Linked DNA regions of Homo sapiens: all the other regions are linked to region 2. Evidence: promoter capture Hi-C in 16 types of primary human blood cells and fetal thymus (Javierre and others, 2016). All regions are on one chromosome and are shown on one strand. Each heading gives the region's core, a stretch centred on a gene start or on the middle of the fragment in contact. The rest is flanking DNA. Distances are from core to core; before and after follow the strand shown.

Region 1 (3,877 bases), core at 943-3,442, 480 kb after region 2:
GTCTCCTCCCTGGCCCAGGGTCACTTTATGGAAGCCACCTTCTATTACCTGTTACCTTCCATGACTCATAGTCTGCTGTCTGCTTCTGACTCCTCAGTTGTTGGATTTCCCCATCCACTGCAGTGGGATGGAGACAAGCAGCCCCATCACATAAGTATCGGGGAAGAAAGTGATAAATAGGTTCTCAGTGTATAGGCAGAGGAATTTTAAAGGACTCCATGGTGGGGTGAAAGGTCTGGAAATGTTTACTTGGTGACTGCACTTCAGGGAGCTTCATGGGTGGGTAAGAGGGAGGGAGAGAATATTCACTTAGTGCCAATTGCCTGGCACTATGCCATGTGAATGTGATACTGATTTGACAGTGATGCCAACTCAGGCTTTATTTATTCCTGTGGGCAAGTGAAACCTCAGAGAAGTTAAGTAACTTGCCCAGGGTTGCTCAGAGGTGCCGAGACATGAGCTGAAGTCTGTCTGACTGCGTGGTGTAGGCTCGTTCTATTGTATGATGAAAAGAAGAGGCTGGTGCCACCAAAAAAGCTTAAGGCCATTGCTGGAGAGAGTGGGTGTGGTACGACCACACTGGGGGACTGTGGCGGAGTCAGCTAAAACTGGCCATGTGCTTGCCAGCGTTCCCACCCCTGGGTATACACCCAAGAGAAAGGCGTGCAGGTGCTCACCAAACATATATACCAATGTGTCCACAGTAACATGGACCCTAACAGCTAAAAAACTGGAAGCTGCCCAGATGTCCATCAACAGTAGAATGAATTCCAGTGCACTCACACAATGGAATACTATATAGCAATAAATAAAAGGAATGGATATTTGCAACAACATGGATTAACCTCAAAAATGTTATGTTGGCAGGGTATGATGGCTCATGTACCCCCAGCACTTTGAGAGGCCAAGGCAGGTGGATTGCTTGAGCTCAGGAGTTCAAGACCAGCCTGGGCAACAAGGCGAAACCCCGTCTCCACAAAAAATACAGAAATTAGCTGGGCATGGTGGTGCGTGCCTATAGTCTCAGCTACTGGGGAGGCTGAGGTGGGAGAAATGCTTGAACCCAGAAGGTTGAGTCCGCAGTGAGCTGTGATCATGCCACTGCACTCCAGCCTGAGCAACAGAGCAAGATTCCATCTCAAAACAGCAACAGCAACAACAACAACACAACAAAAACCCTCAAAACATTATGTTGAGTTAAAGAAGCCGGACAAAAGGCTATGTACTATATGATTTCTTTTATGTAACGTTCAAGAACTTGCAAAACTAATCTACTGTGTTGGAAATGAGGGGCTGGGGGTGGCGGCTGGGCAGGAGTGGGATGGGGGCACTTCCTGGGGTAACGGAAGTGTTCCACATCTTGATCTGGGTGGCGGTTGCATGGGCATACACGTTGGTAAAAATGCATCAAGTTATACATGGAAGAAAGTTTCAAGAGTCTGAGAATGCCTCCCTCCATTCTCCCATTCCAAAACATGGTCATATTGGCCCAGCTAATTTCCTCCTTGCAGCAGAGATGACACATCTGAGAGCAGATAAAGGGAGGAGGGGCCCTCTTAGGCCCCACTGGCTGCCTGGTGATAAGCAGTGACCTCAAATTAATATAGGATGTCACTGTTTACCAGCTCCATTGCCTGTATCCCCTTATCCTCTCTGCATCTGCAACCACGAAAGAGGGGTTGGGATTGTTCCACAGCAGAGGAAATGGAGGTTCTCGGAAGGACCTCGGGGAGGCCATGCAAGGCTACTCGGCTTGGAGAGGACATGACCTCGTGGGGAAGGGAGCAACCCGGGGAGGAAGCCGAGGGGGAGCCTTTGGACACACAGGCAGGGACAGGCGCCAGAGGGGGCACCTCCTGCAGTGTGCTGCCTCCACATCAATAATTGCATAATGTGGATACCATTTATGATTGACAGTTCCAAAAACCAAACTCACTCACTACAGATGAGCAAGGAAGAGCAAGAGCCATTCAGAAGTGAGGAGGTATGACGTACAAGGAACACAGGATATGTTTCATGCTGTGATGAAGTTTCACAATAGACTTGGCATAGATTGAAACCCAAAGGGCTCTATCAGAAGTGGCAAATGTGGCACGCTCAGGCCAACACCCATGCCAATGATTCCTATAAAATTCCCATTGCCTGGTAGAAGTTCACAGGAGAGGAAAGTTCTTTCCTGCACCAGGTTCTATGGAGAATTGGTTGCATGGTTTCTCGTGCTGTGGGCATCAGGGACTTCAGGTGAAGGTATTTAGCTGTGGCTTTGTGCAAACCTCAGAACTGTGTCCTCCAAGGGCCTGGGGTATTTGGCAGGCGCTGTCTCTTGCTGCCTTTGCTGCTGTATGACAGGTGAGTAATATGTTATATCCTATTTCTTGGGAGCTGCCTGGAGTGTCTGCCCCTCCTGCAAACAAATGTAGGAGTGAAGCACCTCTAGTTTGAGTCACCTTAACTTACTAGGTCCTGTTGGGGGTGAGCTCAAGGGTAACTCCAAGGTGCAGAGTGAGTTAGGCTGCTGGTTCAGTTCTTGAGAATTGCCTGTCTAATTAGTGGTCTGCCAAACTTAATGGTAGAGTTACAGAAGGCTGTATTCTTTATAATGACTGGCTGGGCTGTTTGTTGAGACTCCTTATTTGTGTAGGACAATCAAGCCATCAACACGCAGGCAGAGTTGTTGCTCTACTAAGGTGGCAGCCAGGACATCTAATCTTGTGTTATGTATTTAATATTAAAAAAGGGGGTCGTTCACTGCCCTGTTTCATACTGTTCAGCTTGAGACTGGTAGGTACAAAAGTCTTCTCACTTCCCATGATTCTAGCGGTGATTGTTTAACACCGATTTTGCCAGAACGTTCAAAGCCTGGATCTCTCTCAGAGAATGCAAAGTGTTAGGCACATTTTATTTCTGCAAACTCTGTGTTTGTGCAATTTCAATGCGTTGGATTGGGTATTCCCTCTCCATTTCACTGTAGTCCCAGCTACTCCCTTTTGTCTTAGATCTGCTACCATCCCACTCCCATACATGGGGCACATGGGGTTACACAGCTGTCTTTCATCCCCAGTTCAAGGTCATGTGGCCACTTTATTATGCCTTGAAGCTCTTTCTTCTCTTCTATGAGCTACTTGGGTGTGCTTTCTGTTACTTGAGCCATTGGTTCCTCCTCTTTTGCTCAAATTAGTTTGGGTTAGGCTTCTGTCACTTCTGATCAGTTCAAACTAATTAAAATTGGTTCCAGGACTGGAGTTTTACATTTGGTCTGTCATTTCACTGGGTCTCTTTCTAATACCCTCAACTCTCTTACCCCCTGTTTTGTTAAAGCCAATTGACACAATTCCAATCAGCATTCAGTCTACAGCTACGGCTGGGCCACCATCAGTTGCTGCTGGAAAAAAACAGAGCCACACCTGCTGGCCGAAGCAAAGCAAATAACAACACTGCCTGCAGAATCTTTCCAGGGACTTAACATATTTAAAGCAGAAATTCTGCTTCTTCCTAAATCTAATCTACCCTTGGTCTTCCACATTTGAGTAAGTGGTACCACCATTTGGCCCAGGGCAAACACCTGGGCCATCATCAACTCCTTTTTCTTTCATATTCCACATCTGATCATCAGATTTGCAATCAGCAAATCTTGTTGGCTCTCCCTACAAAACACATCCTGAGTCTGATGACTTTGAGCCTCCTTCACCGCTCCTCACATCTCTGCTGTGTATGGCTGCAACAGCCTCCTAAGTGGGGTTCCTTTTTCCACGACTGTCCCTTTTAGCCTGTCCTCTACACAGCAGCAGCATGATCCTTTCAAAATATAAATCCAGCCACGCCACTTCCCTGGTTCTTAGTAACAACCATCATGCTAACGATCAAAGGTGATTTCCAA
Region 2 (4,432 bases), core at 430-2,929:
AGATAACTGTTCTGGAAACAGAAAGAGCAGGGACCGCTCAGAAAGGAGATCTCTGTCCCTGTTTGAAAGCCTGGAGTTGAGGGGACAGTGCCCCGCCCCCCGCCCCCCGCAACTTGGGTTGCAGCTGTGGCCTAGTGAGCACGCAGCGCCCCCTGGTGGTCGAGGGGGAATTGCGGGTCCCGGGAAAGGGGGCGGTGTGCCAGCAACAGGGAGCAGGCAGCTCTGCAGCCCTGAACCATCCCTCCCTTGGGTGACTCTTTTGGAAATCATTGTTCCCCAGACAGGAGGTTCCTGAGGTTCATACTTGGGTCTCCAAGTCTTGGGTGCTCTGAAGACAGGATTTTAAATCCCCACTCCTACTATTGGTATGTGTTGCATCAGGGTGGCTTGAGCTGGCCTGGTACACAGTGGGCACTCACGTTTGCTGCCTGTTTGAGACCAAGTGCCTCAGGAGGTCTTGGAGGGTTGGCTGGGGCCCCAAGTCCCTGACCTCTGATTCCAGAGGCCAAGTTTAGCTGGGGAAGAAAGGGCAGAGGCAGTTTCCCTATGGACAGCTAGGCCCGGGTGTAGGATTCAGTTTCTGTTTCCTGACACCAAGGCTTCTCCCCAACTTCCCCATTGGGCTAGAGAAGGAAGAACACAGGGTGACATGGCCAGCTGGAGGTTACTGGCCCACAGATAGGGAGTCAGGGTACGGATGGGCAATTCCTGGAGCAGATTATGGTCAAAATAGTGGAAATCCCCAATCACAGGCCAAATGTTTAATTCTCAGAGCCATAGAATCCATAACTAATGCTTATTGGCTTTGACATGGGCAGTAGAAATTTCACACTTCATTCCTTAATCTGGCTCTAAATGCTTCTGGCTGGAGTGCTCACTCTCCAAACTGTGCTGGACAGCACCAGAAGCCCTCCTGTGGACGGACGAAGTGGTGATGGATGAAGTGGAATTGTGCTGGGGTTAGAGTAAGGAGAGATTATCGTTGGGCTGGGCTGGGGCTGAGGTCAGGGTGATGATCAGGTTGGAATTCTGGAAGCAAATTAAGGCTGGGATTGGGGTGGACATTGAGGTTGAGTGATGGGTGGGGGTAAGGGTGAAGGTTGGAGTTGGGTGCAGGTGATGGTTAAGATACGGTGGAGGCTGGGTTGAGATGAGGATGATAGAGTCGGAGTTGTGGTTAGGGTTGGGATGATGGATGGTTGGGATTAGATGAGATGAGTAAATGGTTAGGGTTGGGGTGCAAGTGAGGTGAGGGTGAGATAAGGTTGGAATAGGGGCTGGGGCTGGGGCTGAGGTAGGGTCAGAGCAGGGTGATGGTCGGGACTGGGATTGGGATGCAGGTTGGAAGGATTTGGGGGTGGTGGAAGGGTTTCAGTTGAGTCCATCTTTGATTAGTGTCTTGGACTTGGGTTGGTTTGGGGTCCACCACTCGCACCCAGATGGAGCCCCCCCCCGACCCCTGCCCCTATCCCGCTCAGCCAGTTTCAGCCCAGCCCCGCTCCTAATGCTCCACTCACCCTCTGGGCCCAGGGACCAGGGACAGGGGTACCTGCTCCACAGAAGGAAGTGGCTGCGGCGGTGCTGGACCTGCGGAGAGGAGAACAGGAAGGACGGCCAAGAGCTCCTGGTGCAGCTGGCTCCCCAGGGCTCTGCCGGCTCAAGAGAGAAGGATCCCGTATCAGGGGCTGCTTCCTCTTTCCCAAAGCCTCAGCTCTACTGTCCAACCCAGAGGCTGGTCAGGGAGGCAGCTGCAGGCCTTGCGCAATGCCAAAACGGGAAAGACCTCCATAGGGGAAGGCCCTCGGCAAGGCCAGGGACTTAGGGACTCCAGCAAGCAGAAGTGGGACCGCTGCAACGCTGGAGCCTCCCCAGGCAAAGTGAGAAATGGAGTGGGGGACTCCCATTCACCAGCCAAATCCACACCCCACTCTCTCTGAGCCCCTTAGGGAGGCTGGGGGAGGTGGAAGGGGGCTTCCTGCACACAGCTCTCCTCCCTGACACCTGAGAGGGAGGCGCGCCCAGCCTGGGGTGGGGATGCACTACACGATGCCCAGACCAAGGCAGTTATTCTCCAAGCCATTCAGGAGCCTCCCTGTACCACTGAGTACTCTTAAGAACCCCCAAGAGGCAGTCCCGTGTTGTGGGGGACATAAGGCCCCAATGTCCAGGACACTCCTCAGGTTTTCTCTTTCCCCTCTCACTGTCCTGTACGTTTTTTGGTTTTTGGCTTCTTGTTGTTGGTTTTTTTCTTTTTGTTTTGTTTTTGCTTTTGAGATGGAGTCTCACTCTGTCGTCCAGGCTGGAGTGCGGTGGCACAATCTCAGCTCACGGCAACCTCCACCTCCCGAGTTCAAGTGATCATCTTGCCTCAGCCTCTCGAGTAGCTGGGATTACAGGCATGCACCACCACATCCGGCTAATTTTTGTATTTTTGGTAGAGACGGGGTTTCACCATGTTGTCCAGGTTGGTCTTGAACTCCTGACCCCAAGTAATCTGCCTGCCTCGGCCTCCCAAAGTTCTGGGATTACAGAGGTGAGCCGCTGCACCCGGCCACTATCCTATACCTTCACCCCCACCTTGGGACAGGAAAGGAAAGCCCCCACCACAGCTAGTTACTGTTACATTACTGCAGCCCATCTTATTGAGGGCCTAGTTTGTGCAGGCACTTGACATGTGAAGCAGATGTTAATTGCTCCAAGCAATCCCAGATACAAGCAACAAGACTTTTTTTGGTTTTTGTTTGTTTGTTTGTTTTTGTTTTTTGAGACAGTGTCTTGCTCTGTCGCCCAGGCTGGGGTGTCCTGGTGCAATCTTGGCTCACTTTGGCTCACTGCAGCTTCGAAATTCTAGGCTTAAGCAATCCTCCTGCTTCAGCCTCCTAAGAAGCCGGGATTACAGGCGCTTGCCACTATGCACGGCTAATTTTTTAAGTTATTTTGTAGAGACGGAGTCTCCCTATGTTCCCAGGCTGGTCTCAAACACCTGGGCTCAAGTGACTCTCCCACCTCGACCTCCCAAAGTGCTGGAACTACAGGCGTAAGCCACCACTCCTGGCCATTTTTTTTTTTAATTTCACAACTCAAACTTAATTCAACTCAGTCCCTGCCTACCTGTACTGGTGGGGAGCTGGCCACAGCAAATTAGGCCCCTGTACCCTGAGGGCAAGGCCACGTGTGCAGGTGTAAAAGGATGTGAAACCCTAAATCAGGGTGGATCCAGAATCGCAGGCCATGGTGCCCCAAAGCAGATGTCTGGTGACATTCCACCCTGAAATGCTCAGGCTACAGAGATATTAGGTCTCTATCACTCTGTTCCTCTTTATAGCTCCTGTGTCCACTCCTATGCTTGGGCCATTTCCTCTTTCGGCCAAAACACAAAGGGTTCATCCCATTACTTCCTCCCTCAACAGCTGGTCCGGAGACACCCAGCTCTAGGCCTGTGGGGTTGTGACACATGGGTACCAATCCTTCAGTCCACTGGGACTCTATACATCCACCCCTTGGCTTCATGGTGGGAAAGCATCCCTTGACTTTGACCTTAGTCATATGACTTGCTCTGGCCAATGGATGTGCACGGACATGACACAAACTAAGTCTTGAAACGTACTTAAGCAGTTTGCCTTTCCCCCTGAATTTCTGTCATTGCCATGCAAGGGGCAGGCTCCAACTAACCTGCTGGTCCAAAGAGGATGACGAACACATGCAGATGACCTGAATCAGACCCATGGATTGAAACAAAACTCAGCTGAGCCCAGCCTACGTCCACCAGACCAGTCAACCTGTGGATGCGTGAATTTATTGCTGGATGCTGCTGAGAATTTTGTGGCTACATTAGCAAGATGATACAAGGCCTAAGTCCCAGAACAACACACCCAGAACTTGCTTACCTTTCCTTAGCATGAGGAGAGCAAAGACTTGTCTACCTTGATTAGTCAGGGAGCACTGCTTCCTGTCATTTCCTTGAGTATACAGCAAACTAGGTAAATAAATAAAAATAACTAGGTAGGCTGGGCACGGTGGCTCACGCCTGTAATCTCAGCACTTTAGGAGGCCGAGGTGGGCAGATCGCTTGAGGCCAGGAGTTCAAGACCAGCCTGGTCAACGTGGCGAAACCCTGTCTCTACGAAAAATACAAAAATTAGCTGGGCCTGGTGGCAGGCGCCTGTAGTCTCAGCTACTCAGGAGGCTGAGGCACGAGAATCGATTGAACCCGGGAGGTGGAGATTGCAGTGAGCCGAGATCACACTACTGCACTCCAGCCTGGATGACAGAGCGAGACTCTGCCTCAAAATATTTTAAAAAATGTAATTTCTCAGTAGGTCACACTGTTACACATTCATCTAATAACAATTATTCTTTTTCTTTTTTTTTTTTTTTTTTGGAGATAGGGTCTCACTGTCACCCAGGCTGGACAGGCTGGAGTGCAATGGCA
Region 3 (4,483 bases), core at 1,077-3,576, 370 kb after region 2:
CCTCTGTTGACAGTCAGGGTCAGGGAAGGAGCGCCTCATCACTGTTGGGCAGTGGGTAGGGTTCAGGCTTCCTACTAGGTCTCCATCGACAACACCCTGGCTGGGAGGGGCAGAGTTCCCTTGTCACTGCTTCACATGTGACCTCCACTGATACTGTGGGGAAGCAGGATAGCCTTGTTACCGTTTGGCAGTTGCGAAAGTCCTGAGTCTCCACCAGGCTTCCTCTGAGACCACTGGAGAGGGGGCGGGGGAGAGGAGGGGGGCGGGGGAGAGGAGGGGGGCGGGGGAGAGGAGGGGGGCGGGGGAGAGGAGGAGGGCGGGGGAGAGGAGGAGGGCGGGGGAGAGGAGGAGGGGTGCTCCGTTACCACCAGCTGGGAATGAAAGTCCAGGCTTCCCATGTGGTCTCCACTGACACCCCTGGGAAGGGAGACCTCATTGCTGCCCAGCGGGATAAAAGTCCTGGCTTCCCACCCAGCTTTTTCTGACACTAGCCTGGCCAGGGGGAAGGAGATTGAAACCTCATGATAGCCTGAAGCCGTGAAGTCCAGCCTGAGCCTAGCCATGAAGCCGAGGCTCCCCACTCAGCCTTTGATGGTGCGGGTGGGGGTGGGGTCTTACATTTTTTCCTATGGTATTTGGCTGGCACAGAACGATCATTGTCTAAAAGTTTTCTGTTTTGCTAGGCCACTCCATCTTGGTCCTTTGGCAAGCAGAGCAGGATTTTCTTGGGCTTTTGTGGGGCATCTATTCCCATTGTTGTTTCCAGAATGCTGGCTTCTTTGCACACTGTCTGGGATATATGAGCCAAAAAGATAAACCCAGAGAACTCATTGCTGTGTCATTCCCTAGGCCCCAAAGTCCCTAGCTGGTTTGCCTTCTTCTCTCTGCTTTCAGATGCTTGTTTTATAGGCAGTATCTAGGGTTTTTAGCCATATTTACTGGAAAGAATAGGAAAAAACACATCTACTCCATATTTCTGAGAGTTGAGGTGTCATAGGTTGATTTAACCATGCCACTGATGCCTTTAGCTCTATCTGCCATGCAGCAGGTATCTTCTAGGTCCTTCATGGGGACCAGGCACTAGTTGAGGCCAAAGAGGAGACAAAGACTGACTCTGACTTCAGGAGCTCACAGTTTTGCGGGAACACAGGACTTTGCCCCAGGTAAGCTTGGATAGTGAAGAATAAGATGCTATAGAGGAAGGAATTACTTGAATGGCCTGGTTGGGGAGAGCTTCCTGGGAGGGTGAAAGTGGAGATAGAGTATTTTGGTAAATTTTAGAGAGGAGCTGCAGGAAGTACAGGTGCCAGGAGAGGAGCAGAGGTCCAGAGGGGTAAGTAGGGATGGCAGGAGGCAGCAGGGAGAGAGCTTGCCTGGTTGGGCCCTCAGGTGAAGCGAATGAGCCTGAAGGACACCATGCACAGGGGCTTGACAGTAGTATCTTCAGAACAGGAATCTGGGGATCAACTGTGACATGGCAATTGTGTGGGTGAGCAAAGATGGTGGCCTGGCCAGTGCAGTGGCTATGGGGTGGAGAGGAGAGAACAGGATCAAGAGGCATTTAGAAGGTAGAACTGATGGGTGTCTGGATTGATCTGGGGAAGAAAGAGAGAGGAATTAGATATGAGGCTGAGATTTCCAGCTGAGGTCTCTGGGGAAGAATGGTGCCATAAACACGCAGAGAGAGAAGACAGAGAGGGGAACCAATCTTTGGAATAAGAGGATGAGATTTTGGCCACTGGTACCCAGAGGCCCTTCTTCAGAGAATGATGCAATGAGACCGAGGTGAATATTTTCTCTGAGCACTGAAGTTTCAGATCAAATAAGCAACAGATTTCTGCTCTGTGAAAGCCCTGTAGTCGAAAGGCAGTACATTGCAAATTTCAAAGAATAAGGCACTATCCTCTACTTTTGAGAGAAAGAAATGGAAGTCACACGCCAAAAAGTTGAAGTCTCTCCTAGACTCAGATGTCCTCAGTCTTCATCACTCTCTCTGGGTCTGATGGTCAGGAGGCCTAATGCTCAAGCTGTAAGGCGAGGCTCCTTAGAACCACTTGAGTCACCTGTCCGAAGCTGAATTGCATGATGGCTTCATTCAGAGCCACCCAAATCATTCTGGCCAATCACGGGCAACTGTGGATGGTTCAATGGCACCTTCCTTTCAGAGAATAGAAGTCCCAGGAGGGCAGGGGTCTTTGTCTGATTTGTTCACTGAAGAATCCCAGGTGTCTAATAGGCTGCTGGTATATAGTAGATGCTAAATAAATACTGGTTAAATAAATGAAGGATTGCAATGGGTTTGGGGGAAGTCTGAGGCCAGGGTTAGGGGTCACACCAAGGTCAGGTTTTTAAAGTATAGGATCCCATTTTTGGTACTGAAACGTGGTTGGGGTATTTAGGGGTCTGCCTATTGGGACAAAGGTTTCTTGGAGGACATCGCACACCTCTCAACCTGAGGACTCCTTATGGGCTCAGGGGAGCAGCTACTGGCTGAGATTTTTAAAGCAGGGTCTCAGTCAGTGAAAGCCTGGCTTGCTTTCCCTGAAGAGAGCTATGCGCGTGCCTGGCCATGGGGCTCACAGCTGCCCCCTGGTGGTCAGCCACAGCCCCCTGCCAACCCTTGGGCGTGGTATTTTTCCAGCCTTAAGTCAGGCAGCAACGGCACATCCTAACGCAGGGTCCGTCTGGTTCCCGGGCCCCAGGTGGCGAGGGAACAGGAATGAGGGCTCTCCGGCACTCTCCGCTTTGCCCTTGGCCTCCTTTTTTCATCAGGGAAGACTCAGGGGAGGGCCTGCGCTGTGCCTCTCTTCAGCATCTGTGAAGATTCTGCCAGCTCCCCAGCCCCGTGCTCTCCGAGGGCATTTTTGTGCACGCAGGGCAGATTCCGGATTCCAAGAACATCAGTCATGGAATGACCTCTCTCCGGCCCCTTGGTGTGACCTCACTGTCTTGCCTCCTCCACCTGCACGTTCTTTGCCAGCCTGTAGGTCCTATCGTGGGGACTCCTCCCTGACCTCTGCCAATTTGAAGTGGGAACTCAGATGAGTGCCTCTGACTTTTTTTTTTTTTTTTTTTGAGACGGAGTCTCGCTCTGTCGCCCAGGCTGGAGTGCAGTGGCGCGATCTCGGCTCACTGCAAGCTCCGCCTCCTGGGTTCACGCCATTCTCCTGCCTCAGTCTCCCGAGTAGCTGGGACTACAGGCGCCCGCCACCACGCCCGGCTAATTTTTTTGTATTTTTAGTAGATACAGGGTTTCACCGTGTTAACCAGGATGGTTTTGATCTCCTGACCTCGTGATCCGCCCGCCTCGGCCTCCCAAAGTGCTGGGATTACAGGCGTGAGCCACCGCGCCCGACCGAGTGCCTCTGACTCTCACAAGGGCTCGTGTCTTCAGTTCCAGGCAGGCCCTGGAAGGGCATGGGGCAACATCTGGGGCGCCCCCACGGCTGCCTCTCTCTCCCCCCACGGCCCTGTGCCCCTCAGCAAAGCTTCTTCAGAACAGCTCTTTGGACAGCAGCTCTCAGGGCATCTGTAGCTGGTGCCAGCCTACACCCCCCATGCAGCTATCATGGACAGCGAGGGCATAGGCTCTGGCCATAGGACCCCACAACCAGCACCACCATGTTCTGAGTTAATGGTGGGAATTTATCTCCCAGCATGATCTGACATGGTCTGACAGCAAGCCCATGACATTCTGCCTCCATGGTGTGGACACCTGAGGCAGATGGGTTGTATGTGGGTGGGGAGATAGCCCCTTTCATCGCAGGCAGGAGGAACATGCTTAGGGTACTACGCTGTAGGGTCAGGTCTTTATGCTTCTCATCATGCAGAGCAGGCTTAGGGGCTGTGTCTGCAGCCCCTCCCTGATTCCCAGGGATGAAGAGATGGGGTAGGCTCTCCGCAGCTCTGGGGAAGTTTTATTCCCTCTTCTCCCCCTCTCTCTGCACTTCCTTCCCTCTCTTGTGTTCCATCTTAGTCCATTTCTGCTGCTATAACTGAATACCACAGACTGGGTAAGTTATAAAGAAAATAATGTATTTGGCTCACGGTTCTGGAAGCTGGCAAGGCCAAGAGCATGACGCTGGTGTCTGACTGATGAAGACTTCATGCTGCTTTATCCCATGGTGGAAGATATCACATGGTGAGGAAGCACATGTGTGAGACAGAAAGAAAACTGGCCAAACTCATCCTTTTATCAGGAAACCACTCCTGGGATAACTAACCCATTTGACTGATAACGGCATTCACCAACCTTTTAAAGGCCCCACCTCTCAACCCTGCTACAATGGGAGTTAAATTCCAACATGAGTTTTGGAGGGGACATTCAAACCATAGCATGTCCCCACCTGATCCATGCGCATTCTTTGTAGACCAGTGGTCCCCAAACTTTTTGGCACCAGGGATTGGTTTTGAGGAAGACAATTTTTCCTCAGACGGGGTAGGGGGGAGGGGATGGTTTTGGGATGAAACTGTTCGACTTCAG

What was found. The method cuts DNA at HindIII sites, captures the fragments that hold promoters and counts their contacts. A CHiCAGO score of 5 or more calls a contact.
Region 1: a contact is called between the fragment with the promoter of LINC01433 here and the fragment with the promoter of SIGLEC1 in region 2, in 1 of 17 cell types (neutrophils). The highest score is 8.4, in neutrophils.
Region 3: a fragment that was not itself captured here is called in contact with the fragment with the promoter of SIGLEC1 in region 2 in 6 of 17 cell types (naive CD8 T cells, naive B cells, total CD8 T cells and 3 more); the score reaches 7.7 in naive CD8 T cells.

Annotation. Positions count from the first base shown.
Region 1 is chr20:4,190,898-4,194,774 of GRCh38, forward strand. LINC01433 (long intergenic non-protein coding RNA 1433) reads left to right here and starts at 2,193. Exons shown (of 3, transcript NR_033917.1): 1 at 2,193-2,349. The HindIII fragment of the contact is 5,002 bases long and covers 536-3,877 here.
Region 2 is chr20:3,710,921-3,715,352 of GRCh38, forward strand. It overlaps SIGLEC1 (sialic acid binding Ig like lectin 1), which reads right to left and starts at 1,680. Exons shown (of 22, transcript NM_023068.4): 1 at 1,550-1,680. The HindIII fragment of the contact is 9,565 bases long and covers 1-4,432 here.
Region 3 is chr20:4,082,838-4,087,320 of GRCh38, forward strand. No RefSeq gene overlaps it. Among named protein-coding and RNA genes, the nearest start is that of SMOX, 64 kb to the right of the region's middle. RefSeq lists enhancers at 1-14, 15-514 and a cis regulatory region at 1-581. The HindIII fragment of the contact is 2,320 bases long and covers 1,167-3,486 here.